Linked DNA regions of Homo sapiens: all the other regions are linked to region 2. The links are contacts of gene promoters, found by promoter capture Hi-C in human tissues and cell types (Jung and others, 2019). All regions are on one chromosome and are shown on one strand. The core of a region is centred on a gene start or on the middle of the fragment in contact, and the rest is flanking DNA. Distances in the headings are between cores, read along the strand shown.

Region 1 (4,114 bases), core at 1,470-3,969, 210 kb after region 2:
GGTGGCTCACACCTACAATCCTAGCACTTTTGGAGGCTGACACAGGCGGTTCACTTGAGGTCAGGAGTTCTAGACCAGCCTGGCCAACGTGGGGAAACTCTGTCTCTACTAAAAAATACAAAAAAATTAGCCAGGCATGGTGGTGCACACCTATAATCCTAGCTACTCGGAAGGCTGAAGTGGGAGGATTGCTTGAATCCAGGAGGTGGGGGCCGCAGTGAGCTGAGATCACACCACTGCATACTCCAGCCTGGGTGACAGAGCAAGACTCTGTCTCAAAAAAAAAAAATTATATATATTATATATATTCTTACATATGTTTTACTTACATATTTGTGTATATGTATTTTATTTAAATATGCATATATATGTAAACATAACAAAACATATACATACGTTTTACCCAAAATGTCATAATTTAAACTTGTCAGCAATGTGAAAGTTATTAAGATAATATTTATATACTGTTATTTATATTGACTTCAAAACCTGAATGCTTTTTAAATTTATGATACACCTCAATTCAAACTAGCCCTAATTCAATTGCTCAATAACTGCATGACTTTTTCTCCACAAAAGTCATCATGGAGACTTCCCAGCTGCAGAAGAAAGTATGGGGTTTGAGATCAGCCATTGAATGCTCCCTGAGAGCTGATCATTCTTGTCTTAGAGAGGAAGAGGTAAATTAGGAAATAATTTTATTATTTTTTATTAGCACAAAAGGGCAGATGGTTGGGTAGCATGATGAAATAATTCCAGTGATCATCTCTAGTCTTGATTTTTTCTCAGATTTATAAAAGAAATAAAGAGTGATGAAGTTGTTTGAGCAATAAAAGCACACAAAGCAACCAAGCAGCAGGAGGATGGTATGGGTGGCTCTGTGTTCAGGAGATGGCTGGGAAGAGAGGCTAGGGCTGTGCAGACGCTGGGCTCTCCGCCGGTGTCTGCAGAGGAGACTGGCCATGTTGATGCTGGTCCAGACCATGAGGAACACAAACAGGACATGGCGAATCACCATGACATTTATAAATGATCCTTGGGGGAGTTTTATCTGTTTAGATCACGGATGTATGCCAAATCCATTAAATAGTACCAAGAATAAGGAACATGTGCAAAATATATTTGTGGAATGAATAAAATAAGTCCCATAGAGCAGTGCAATTTAACAGAAATATAATCCAAGCCCCAAATGTATATTAAATTATTGTATGTATGGCCTAGTTTGACAACAGTCTTGCAAATATCCAGGACCAGAAATGGTGAAATTGGTATTGGCCTCTACGGTTTCAGTGATGTGAACGTAGATTAGCATGTTGGTGATCCAGAGGAAAATGAAAGAGGGAACAAACCTCAAGGCTGATATGCGGATCACACAATAGTTTACCAAACTGCCCAATATCATAACCAGAGACGTTCACACTACAAACCAGGAGAAAAAGTTGGTGTTTTCACACTGTATAACTTTCTGCAAGATGCTGAAACAAGACTCTATATCATAATGAGACTTTCATCTCACTTAATTCGACCTTTTCTACTTAGCAGAATAATGGTGTAACTTAAATTTTATGATCAATTCCTTCTGCTTATAACTTAACAGAACCCAACCTACAAAATTCTTTAGTATCCATTGGTTAAGCAAGAAATTGTCTGTGATGTTGCTAATACGACATGCTATACCTGAATAAATTCCTCTGAGAAAAGTTGAGGCTCCTATACACAAAATAAGAAAGCAGGCCATGTGGTTACCCCAGGTCTCACCTAACTCCCTGCTGTCTCGAATAACTGTTTGAGTTCTTCAATTAGTTGTCTTTAAACCTAGGTTTATGGCTCAAAACCATATGCAAACTGAAAATCTCATATTGCTCTTAATTTGTATTTCCCCTTACTTTGTATTTCTCCTTTTTAAACTTTGTATGTGTTACTTGTTAAATTTTTTCAGAGGTGCAGCTCCTAACAAAATAATACTGAATCAGCACTTTAAAGGGATAGCAAAAGACTGTAGAACAGACAAAATTGAACTTACTAATGGACTCCAGGGAGACTTAGCCTGAGAGCCACATCCTTCAAATCTCTTTTGTTGCTCAAATGTGCTTTTGACATCGATTCCTAGTCACCAGTCACTCCCCACAACATGGGATGAGACCAGCAAACTGGGAGAGGTCCATGCTGGCATCAGGGGACATCAAATCTTAATTACAGAATGATTGATCAATAATGCTTTTAGAGAAAGTTCTTGATCACAAGGAGAAATCTGAAAGTTGTCAGAACAAAATGGAGCCACTAATGTTAAGATGACCCTGACAAATAAAGCCAGGAAAGCCATGAAGAGGGGGGGTCTTATCCTTGTATGCTTGAAAATGAAAAAGACTCTACAAAACCCACAACCTTGCATAAAGGTCATTGCAACCTTAAACAAAAAATATTTCTGCAAGGAATGCTGCCCAGCAACTGCCTGTCCAACCTCAGACTAATGTCACCTTTGTGCCTGATCCTGTGGCCAAGGAAAATCCTGTCAAAACAATATGCAATCCTCCCCATTTCTGTCTTCCTTTATCTTCCTGAATATATACATAGTTTAATATGGCATATCTATTCCCAATTGCAATGCTCTATTCCCAAATAAACACTGTTTCCTTTAGGAAGCTTTCATATGTTTGTTATTTAGGTTAACACTTGTAATAATTAAAGGATTACAGTTACAATGTAAAATTATTAGTATTAACAACACAAACATTGGTATAAAAATTATTATTACAGAAATTAAAACAACTTGAGTATGGAGAGATTAAGACTGTCCCAGCCAAGTCATTGAAGTCATAAATTTAAGCTATGACTAACAGGATGCAAAGCTTCCTGAGGGTTTTGTTTTGTTTTCAACAAGCGGAGGGCCCCATTTCCCTTTCCGACAGCCTCATAGGAACTTCTCCCTTTCTTCTCAAGTGACCAAGAGGAACAGAACACAGAGCAGCCTGGCAGTGTCCAAGCAACAAGCCTCCGCTCCTCCTTCCTGCACCCTGGGGCTCCTGAAACTCACATGGTAAGCGCTGCAGAAACGCAGCAGGTGGTGACTTTAGGGGAGGACAGGCCAAATGGGAGAATCCCCTTAAGCTTCGGTTTCTCTAGTTCTCAACTTCTTTTGAAATAATGTTCATAGAGAAGGAGGGCTGTCTGAGATTCGAGGGAAACAAGCTCTCAGGACTTCCGGTCGCCATGATGGCTGTGGGCGGTAAACGCGGTTAGTGCAAGCATCTGGGCCATCTTCAATGTGAGTAGGAAAAAACACGACTACACTTACTTCTGCAGAGTTTATAATATCCTTGCCCATTATTTACAATAAAATATCTAAAACATAGGTAATAATATATTTTAAATAAAATTGAAGCAATATATGAAATTTCTCTGAAATTCATCCAGCCACTCTCGGCTGTTGCCACTATCCAGAAACGTCTTAATCCCCCTGCATGATTTATGTATTTGGTTTGTATTTTAAATATTATTTTCTGTAATATTTAAAACTTGTATTTGCTTGGTATCGTGCTGTGCAGTCTCATGCAATTTGATTTTTAATCAATATTACTTTTTTTTTTTTTTGAGACGGAGTCTCGTTCTGTCATCCAGGCTGGAGTCCAGTGGTGTGATCTCGGCTCACTGCAACCTCCACCTCTCGGGTTCAAGCGATTCTTCTGCCTCAGCCTCCCGAGTAGCTGGGGTGACAGGCGCCCGCCACCACGCACGACTAATTTTTGTATTTTTAGTAGAGACGGAGTTTCACTATGTTGCCAGTCTGGCTTCGAACTCCTGATCTCAGGTGATCCGCCCGCCTCGGCCTCCCAAAGTGTTGGGATTACAGGCGTGAGCCACCGTGCCCGGCCCAATAGTACATTTTAAATATTTATCCATGTTTACATGTGGTTTTAATAATTTATGTTAACTGCGCTACAGTATTAATGCAATGATGATATTATAATCAATGTATCCATTCTTTGATGATGGACATTCAGTTTGTTACCCTGTTTTCTGATAGCAAACCATAATACAATGGACTTTTTATATGCATTTTCTTGTCCACACATAATTTCAAGGGTAGGTGTGTCTTGAAGTCTAGATACAGCCA
Region 2 (4,455 bases), core at 993-3,492:
ATCCCAGCTACTCGGGAGGCTGAGGTGGGAGAATCACTTGAACCCGGGAGGTGGAGGTTGCAGTGAGCTGAGAGTGCACGAGTGCACTCGAGCTTGGGCGACAAAGCAAGACTCCATTTAAAAAAAAAAAATTAATTGTGATGGCTGCACAATTGTGAATACACTAAAAGCCATTGAATTGTACCCTGTAGTGAGTGTATGATATGATATGTGAATTAGATTTCAATGAAGCTATTGTAAAATAAATGAAATGGGCCTCATGCCCGACCCTCTGATCTTTGGCAACTCTTTCTGAGTCTCGGTTTCCTCCATTGTAAGGTGGGGAAATTGGGACTTCTTAAAAGACCAGGAAGGGCCTTCTTACCATATGGATGAGGGCCCAGTCCTGGCTTAGTTGCTCACCCACCATGTCCCCTGGGATCTCTGGCTTCTTTTTCCAGAGACTCAGTTTGCTCAACCATTTACTAGGTGTGTGATGGATGACAGGTCAAATCCTTTCCTGAGCCTCAGCTCTCATCTGTGAAAGGCAGGAGGCCTGGGGGCTGGGCATGGTGGCTCACACCTGTAATCCCAGCACTCTGGGAGGCCAAGGTGGGAGGACTGTTGGAACCCGGGAGTCTGAAACCAGCTTAGGGAACATGGCGAGACCCTATCTTAAAAACAAAAAGTATCCAGCCATGGTGATGCAGCTACTGTGGAGACTGAGGTGGGGGATCACTTGAGCCCAGAGTTCAAGGCTGCAGTGAGCTATGATGCTCTACCACTGCACTGCAGCCTGGGCAACAGAGCAAGACCCTATCTCTTAAAGAAAAAAAAAAAAAAAAGAGGGCAGGTGCGGTGGCTCACACCTGTAATCCTAGCACTTTGGGAGTCCAACTCAGGAGGAATGCGTGAGGCCAGGGGTTTGAGAACCAGCCTGGGGAAGACAGCAAAACCCTGTCTCTAAAAAATAAATAAATAATTAAAAATAAAAAATAAAGGAAGAAAAGAAATGGAGGGAATCGCAGCAGCCTGTCAGGGTGGACCAAAGGAAAGGGCTGGGCATGGACCCGCACCCCTCATTGCCTTCAGGGTTCACTGCAACGTTACCAAACGCTTGGCCCTGTGGTGGGGAACTTCCCAGGAACTGGCTGGATCAGGACAAACCATTCCAGGGGTTAAATAATTTGTGCTGGAACCTGGGGATCCTCAGGGGCTTCTTGGCAGGGCCTGGCACACTCCATTTGGAAAGAAGACCATGAGACAATGTCAAGTTTGGCACCAACTGGGTCTCCCAAAGCCCTGCACCTGCTTCCCACAACCACGCAGGCAGCCTGGCCATTCGCGAGGGTTCATTAGGCCCACTTGACAGAGGCAAGGCTGAGGTGAGGGGACCAGCCTGGCTGTGTCCAGTGCCCACAGTGTACCCCAACCTTGACTCTATCTCACCCCTGACAACCCTGCATGTTAGAGACTGTTCTCCCAAAAAGGGGAAATAGGCTCGTTGCCCAAGGGGGCGGCCTGGAGGTCAACATCAGGATGCAGCATCTACACCTGCAGCCCTCCCCAGCCTGGGGATCCCCACTCAGCACTGACTCCACCCTCAGGAACCACCCCCGTGGGCTGGGGGGGCAGGTGGGCACTGACACTGACCTGTGCTCCCCAGGCCCCAGCCTGGGCCTCTCACCCCCACTTGCCCATCTCTCACCAAAGCCCTTTGATGAAGGGACCTGGCTTTTCACAGAAAAGCCAACTGGGGCTGAGGTTAGTCCCTTGTCGCAGGTCTCTCAGCCAGTGGGGAGAGGAGTGGCAAAAGCTAGCCTCCCACCCAGGCCTCCTGGGAGCCACGGCCCGAGTGACAAACCACAGTCTTCTCAAGAGCACTCTGGTTTCAAACACACCTGGTATGTACGAGGCCTCGTGATGAGCTCCCGACATGCCCACAGCCCCCACTGGACTCTCAGACCCCACTGCTCACCTTGGCCGCTCAGGATGCCGGGAGGTGAAGATCATCACCCCCTTTCACAGTTGGGGAACAGGCTCAGGGAACGCCATGAGCTGGCCAGGCCCCCGCAGTGCCAGGGGGAATGCTGGTTGGGTCCTAAGCCTTTCTTTCCTTCCCAGAGTTCTGCCCTCGAAATCCTCCAGTCCCACCTCAGCCCCGTGAGGCAGACCCGTTGTCTACTTCCCAAAGCCAACGGGAACCTTCACCAGGGGGCCATCTGCGGCCAACATGGCCCAGCTCCCAGGCTGGCTGCGACTCAGGCTCAGGGCACCCCCCTCCCCTAGCAAAAGCAGGGCGGGAGGGAAAGGGATCCTCCACCTGACCTGCGAGAGCAGCTTAATGTTTCCATATAAAGGAGATACAGGGCTTAAGGTGCTTCAACTTCGTGTCAAAGTCACTGTCTAATCTGAGGCCAAGAAGCCCCGCCCCCAGGCCCCACCCTCACCCTCCCAAATCAACACTCTCACTCTTCCGAAACCAGGGGTGTTCCCCACCACTCCCCACCTACTGGTGGGGGCTGGACAGCAGGTTGGAAAGCAGAGACTACAGAAAGACAAAGAGATGCAGAGATAGGCAGGAGGAGGGGTGTTGAGAGGGTGCCCCAAGAAAAAGTACAGGGACCAAGCAGGACAGGGACCCTGAGAGAGAGGGGGACAGAGACCCAGAGAGGGCAGCAGGAAAGGGACATTGATCCAGAGAGAAAGGGACAGAGACCTTGAGAGAGGACAGAGACCCAGAGAGAGGGGAACAGAGACCTTGAGAGGATAGAGACTCAGAGACAGAGGGGGACAGAGACCCAGAGAGAGGGGGGGACAGAGACCTAGATGGAGGGGGACAGAGAAGATAGAGGCGGACAGGGCAATTGGGAAAACGAAAAGGAGAAAAGAAATGTTTTAAGAAATGGCGACATGGGGAGATGAAATTGTGAAGACAGAGAGAGGCAGAGAGAGATGGGAGAGACAGAGATGGGGGAGAGAGACAGAGACAGAGACAGACAGACTGAGAGGGTTTCTCTGAAAGGATGGAAGCCAGTGAGAAAATGCATAAAATGGGGATGGGGTGAGAGTTGGAGGCACTGAACCTGGGGGTGGATTCTCCTGGCGCTGAGCCTGTCACTGATGGGAAGACAAGGCCTTCTTGAAGGGGACAAGCTGAGGACAGGGATGCTGGGGCAGGGGTGGATGGGGGCGACGCAGCAGAGCAGGAGGGGATGGCTCAGCGGTGCCTTGCATGGAGGCACGTACCTGTTGGGGCGGCCCACCCCCATGCCCTCCGCTGGGGGCTCCTCGGCTAGGGCTGAGGGGAAGCCTCTGTGGGTGCTGAGGGGCTGTAGTCTGTCCTTGGTCCCAGGGGCCGTGTGACGGGCACCCGACCTCGGAGTCCACAGATGGATCAGAGGCTGGATGGAGGGGGGCCGGGGGTGGGGCTAGCTCAGAGCCGCAGAGGGGGAGCCAGGGAGGCCAGCCAGGCAGAGCGGCTGGGCCACAGCCCAGGCAGGCTGGACAGGAGACAGCGGCGGAGGAGCGAGACAGCGACTAGGGGGCAGGGAGACTGGCAGTGGGGGACGGGAGACTCTGAAAGAGGGGGACACAGAGAAGAAAGAAAGAAACGTGATAAAGGGGAGATGGACGGAGGGAGAAATGGGGGGTCCAGAGTTCCCTGAGATGAAGCCTTCATAAGCTGGTGGGGGTCAGGGATGAGGCCCCTTTCACTAAGCCAGAGTGAGTTCCAGATGGAAGGACACTTAGAGAAGGCAGAACGCGGCGGCACCCAGTGGGCGGAAGGTTGGGTTGCACTGGACTCCCAGTGGCCTCCCCCAGCCTAGCGGCCTGGGGGCAGCTGGTGCCAAATTCCTCCCCACCCCCAAACTCCCCCCACACCCCGTTTCCTCATAGGGCTGTGGCCAAAGGACCAGAGTCTCAAATACACCTCAGGCCTCTTCCTGGTCCTTTATTGCTGCTCAGGAGCCCTGACCTTCCTCCCGACACAGCACCAGCCTCTAAAGTCAGGGAGGAGGGGAGAGGGTCGCATGTAGCCCCCACACGGAGAAATCCTGGCCAAACCCAGCTGGCAGGAAGACAACGGGCAGAAGCAAATTGTGTTGGAGGAACCCACACCTCCAATTTGGTGCAGCCACTGTATATCCCCCGAGTCCCCTGCTGGGAACCAGCAGCCAAAACTGGGTCCTGAGCCGGACGCGGTGGCTCACGCCTGTAATCCCAACCCAGCACTCTGGGAGGCCGGGGCGGACAGATCACTTGAGATCAAGAATTTGAGACCAGCCTGGCCAACATGGTGAAACCCCGTCTCTACTAAAAATACAAAAATTAACGGGGTGTGGTGGCACATGCCTGTAATCCCAGCTACCTGGGAGACTGAGCTGAGAGAATCACTTTAACCCAGGAGGCGGAGGTTGCAGTGAGCCAAGATCGTGCTACTGCACTCCAGCCTGGGCGACAGACCAAGACTCC
Region 3 (4,699 bases), core at 2,200-4,699, 220 kb after region 2:
CCATTTAACATGGGATATTTTAAAAGCAGTGCTGCACGCCGGGGACCATGGATGGTAGAGCTTAAAGAACTACTTTGTTTAATAAAACCTATCCCAGACTGGGTGCGGTGGCTCACAGGTGTAATCCCAGGACTTTGGGAGGCCAGGGCGGGTGGTTCACTTGAGGTCAGGAGTTGGAGACCAGCCTGGCCAACATGATGAAACCCTGTCTCTACCAAAAATATAAAAAATTAACCGGGTGTGCTGGTGCATGCCTGTAATCCCAGCTATTGGGGACGCTGAGGCAGGAGAATAGCTTGAACCCGGGAGGCAGAGGTTGCAGTGAGCCAAGATCATGCCACTGCACTCCAGCCTGGGCAACAGAGCCAGACTCTGTCTCAATTTAAAAAATAAAAATAAAAATAGAAATGAAACCAATGGCAGATAGCCCAAGGCAGGACCCTCTGGTCAACTGGACTACAGCAGAGGTTCTAAAGTCAATGCTGTCCAATAGAGTTCTCACCCAGGATGGAAATGTTCCCTGTCTGTGGTGTCCAGTGTGAAAGCCACTGGCCTCACATGGCTTTTTCTTTTTTTAACATACATACTTTAATCAGAATTGCTGAAAAAATATTCAGGATTTTTGCTCTTGTTGTTGATGTTTTTAACAGGCTTAATTTTCCAGCTGAAACCCGATTTTACATTGCAAACAAATGTTCTTTTTTTTTTTTAGACAAAAGTTGTCTTCAGTAATAATTCCTCAGTTATTTTCTTTCTTTTTTTTTGCTTTCCTTTTTTGTCAATGATTTTTTTCTACAGTTTGGTTTTGAACTTACTTCAAAATCTCTCAACAATTGCTTTCACAGATATTCAGCTGATGGAAGTGTTCACTGTTGTAACCTTTTGTGGAGAGTGATTTGGGAATATCTATCAAACAGTAATGCTCAGGCTGGGTGCGGTGGCTCATGACTGTAATCCCAGTGCTTTGGGATGCCAAGGTGGAAGGATTTCTTGGGGCCGGGAATTCAAGACCAGCCTGAGACCTCATCTCTATTCCCTGGAGTCCTCTTCAAAGCAGATTTTGTTGCCAGACGTCCTATGCCTATGTCCATTACCCAGAAAAATTCTTTTAGTTTCACGTGGCTGGGGAGGCCTCACCATCATGGCAGAAGTCAAAGGAGGAGCAAAGGCATGTCTTACATGGTGGCAGGCAAGAGCCACGTGTGGCTTTTGAGCACTTGAAATATGGCTACTTCAAAGGAGGAACTGATTTTCACATTTAACAATTTAAAACTAAATGTAAATAGGCAGGTGTGGCTAGTGGCTGTCATATTGGCCATTGAATATCTTGGCATAAAGGACACTCCATCACTCCTAACCTCAATCTTGATTCCTGCCAGCCATAGGAGGACAGCACCAAGCCTTCAAAAATGAAGAAGAGAAAAGGATCTAGCATAGGACTCTCATGTTCCATATCTGAATAAGGATCCTTGATGGGAAAAGAAAGTGTGTACAATATCCATAATTTTCTTTTTCTGTGAGCATTTTTGTTGCTTTATGCAACCCCTCTCACCATTTGCAGGCAGAAGGGAGAAGAGGAGATAACTGTTCCATGGGTTCTTATAAAACATGCCCAATCTCACTAATGCCCTGCAATCCCAATCATTTTAGGGTCCTATTCTCTCGGGCACCAATTATGGATGAAGGGAGACTACAAATTAGGAATCTCATCCTTTCCCTAAAATTCTTAGCAAGGTTATATAGGTCAACATACTTGTTGACCTATTATGAAACCAATGTTTGTGGCAAATGCTAGATGTTGAGAACTGACTGACGTCTGCTTCCTAGGATGGAAAGAGCAGCATATAGTGGGAAACAGAGAGCCAGTTAAATTTAACATAATGAGATGTAAGAAAGAGTCATGGGAGTCTGAGAGGTGAGATGGAGTCGTAGGGGCCTGAGGAATGACTTCCCTAAGATAAAATATTGAGTCTATGGCTATTAACATAAAATCTTCCTGCACAGCCTATGCTATCATCAGGCACCTACCTTATATTCATAGTAAAAATTCTGTTGTTGTTTTCCAGGGTATACAGGGAGCTACCCTGTGTTTCTGAGACCCTTTGTGACATCTCACATTTTTTCCAAGAAGATGATGAGACAGAGGCAGAGCCATTATTGTTCCGTGCTGTTCCTGAGTGTCAACTATCTGGGGGGGACATTCCCAGGTAAGAAAAGCTATTCCGTTGGAAAACTATTGGACGCTGTGTCTCAATATCACAGAGGAACATGAGAATTAGAGGAATTTGGGTGTTTTTCATCGAACTCAGGGGAGAATGAATGAGCTTATGCAATACTAGCAATGAATCCAGAAATTTTTGAAACAAACCTTAAGCAATGAGGTTTTCTTCCATGGAGGTGTCTAGAGAACCTATACACAAAAAGGCAATGAGCAATGCAATCGAAGACCAGTGGGTTATTGGTTAAGCTGTTACTCAATACATAAAACCAACCTAATTCTCTAGGAAACTGGCTGATGATGAGGCTGAAGGCCACAGTGGGGTCCTGAGGTTTAACACCGGGGAGGGGAGAATGCGTCTATTTGTAGGGTATGCCAATTTCCAAGGGTTGAATATCCCCATCATGGCAGATTTCAAACTACCAACGTGAAGCCCCTGATGAGGGAGTTGAAAGAACACATGCAGAAGTCTGTCATCCTGCTTTCACCACACAGATACAAGAGACATAAATAACCTCAAGGGCATAGACTGCTGAAAAGTGTAGAAAAATGACTGGAAATTGGTATGTTTTAATATGTATTACTTTTGTTTTTAATATGATTTATTTAAATGTTAGCTTGTATCATTTAATTTAGACTAATGGTTGTGTTGAACAACTTGGTTGCAAAAGCCCTGAAAATGGAACCGTCAGCTCTCATGATCTGGGATGCGCTGTCTGCAGTTCAGCGCTGGGTTCCTCCCACTTTCTAAACCCCTCCTCAGCAGGCAGACTCCAGCATGCACATGCACCAGGAAAGAGAATATAAAATGGCATGTTTACTCTTGCTGCTTTGCCTGTAGCTACCCGAATCCATAGCAAAATGTGTAGCCGCAGACAGCAACCAGTCTTAGGATGTCAGCCCAGGGGTCTCTCCATGCTTGGCTTGCCCACAGAATCCTTCCGAGAAAAGCGCTGTAAAGCCTTTCTCTTCATCCCACTTCTCTAGGTACCTGTTCTTTTTAAACCTAATCCACGTGTCAGTTTCTCTGCTGGTCTCTTTCACGTCGAAATAAACAGATATCTCAAGGAATGGATCAAAGGCAGAGAATTTGATGGAGTTGGTTGCCTTGCTCCAGAAGGTATCACCTGTGTTAGGGCAGGTTTCTCTCCAGAGGCATGACGAACCATTGGCTCACGCTGTATGTCATAGAACCCATATTGGCTAATATTGGAATCACCTGTGAGGCTTTGAAAGCGCCGATGCTTTGGTGCCACCTCCAGACTTCTGATTCAATTGATGTGGGCTGTGACCTGGTATTGGGTGGTTTTTAAAGCTTCCCAGGTGTGGTCAAGTTTGGAATTACCTTGGAATATAAATGCATACATTTTACGCATTGGTGAATTACTGCTTCAGTCTTTGATTCCGACATCGTATGATACCAATCGGAGCAATCAATTTAAGCCAGAGAATCTGGCTGTGTCCACATTGAACGTGGGCATAATACAAAGAGAAGAAGGAGAGATGTCAAGACACATTTGGCTCAAGGGAGTGTGTTATCTCTATTATTTATAAATGTGGATAAAAATATCTTCATTCAAAATGTCTTCTATTTCTTGATAGTCTAGATCCGCCCAGTCTAAGAGAACTTTCTGTGATGACGGGAGTGTTCCATTCTCTGCTACACAGTGTTATAGCCGTGAGTGATATGTAGCTGTTGAGCACTTGAAATATGGATAGTGCAACTGAGAAACTAAAGTTTACCTAAGTTTAATTCATACAAATTTAAATAGCATATCCGGGTAGCGGCTACTCTACGGGACAGTGCAGCTCTAGTTTTCAATAACATCGTCTTCATCTTCATCAACTGATTCTTGATGTTTTTCATCTTTTTGTAACATGGGGATCCCAACCTCCAGTGTATCAGAAGAGCAGGAATCTTCAGAGGGACAAGATTCAGGTAATGGGCTAATAGGGAGAGGAGTGAAGGGCGTGTGGATTGATGGAAATGTTCTGTGATTTTATGTGAAGAAGACAATTTAGAGTCTTTTGTGCAGATCAGGAGTGCTTTCCCTTACCTTTGCCACAGTGCACTGTGCAGTTTAAATGGGGACATGTAAGCCTGTCACTGCTGGGGCATGGAAATGCTCAGGGGAGTCAGTGGGTGGTCCTGGTGGCTGGGGACAGCAGCAGGGCCTAGGAAGGATGCACGCTCTTTCGCCTCTGCATCTTTGGAGTTCGATACTTTTCTGACCTGGACTTTCCTCACCAGCAGAAAGTGTCTTCTGCTATTTCGGACCAGTAGAAATGTAGGTGCATTGGTTCCAGTCCTCAGCAAATGGTGCCTCCCACCAAAGCTGTCCAGCCTGGCTTCCCAGAAAGTCTTATGGAATTTGGTGTATACGTTTAGTCATGACAAGGAACATTCTTGTGCCTTTCTTTGTCTGGATTCAAAGAAGCGAAACTGCATATTCTGGTCACTCTCAGCTCTCATTCGATATC

Evidence for each region. The method cuts DNA at HindIII sites, captures the fragments that hold promoters and counts their contacts. A contact is called where the count stands out against the background at its distance.
Region 1: a contact is called between a fragment that was not itself captured here and the fragment with the promoter of KCNJ14 in region 2, in 1 of the 25 tissues and cell types used here (lymphoblastoid cells).
Region 3: a fragment that was not itself captured here is called in contact with the fragment with the promoter of KCNJ14 in region 2 in 1 of the 25 tissues and cell types used here (IMR-90 fibroblasts).

The regions. Positions count from the first base shown.
Region 1 is chr19:48,248,674-48,252,787 of GRCh38, reverse strand. It overlaps CARD8 (caspase recruitment domain family member 8), which reads left to right. Exons shown (of 14, transcript NM_001184900.3): 2 at 2,941-3,037; 3 at 3,155-3,265. It also overlaps the pseudogene VN1R97P. Among named protein-coding and RNA genes, the nearest start is that of CARD8-AS1, 4.9 kb to the left of the region's middle. The HindIII fragment of the contact is 5,403 bases long and covers 18-4,114 here.
Region 2 is chr19:48,453,361-48,457,815 of GRCh38, reverse strand. It overlaps KCNJ14 (potassium inwardly rectifying channel subfamily J member 14), which reads right to left and starts at 2,242. Exons shown (of 3, transcript NM_013348.4): 1 at 1,958-2,242. GRWD1 (glutamate rich WD repeat containing 1) reads right to left here. Exons shown (of 7, transcript NM_031485.4): 7 at 794-4,455. The HindIII fragment of the contact is 6,064 bases long and covers 1-2,479 here.
Region 3 is chr19:48,231,911-48,236,609 of GRCh38, reverse strand. CARD8 (caspase recruitment domain family member 8) reads left to right here. Exons shown (of 14, transcript NM_001184900.3): 6 at 2,067-2,207; 7 at 4,117-4,157. Among named protein-coding and RNA genes, the nearest start is that of CARD8-AS1, 21 kb to the left of the region's middle. The HindIII fragment of the contact is 6,565 bases long and covers 167-4,699 here.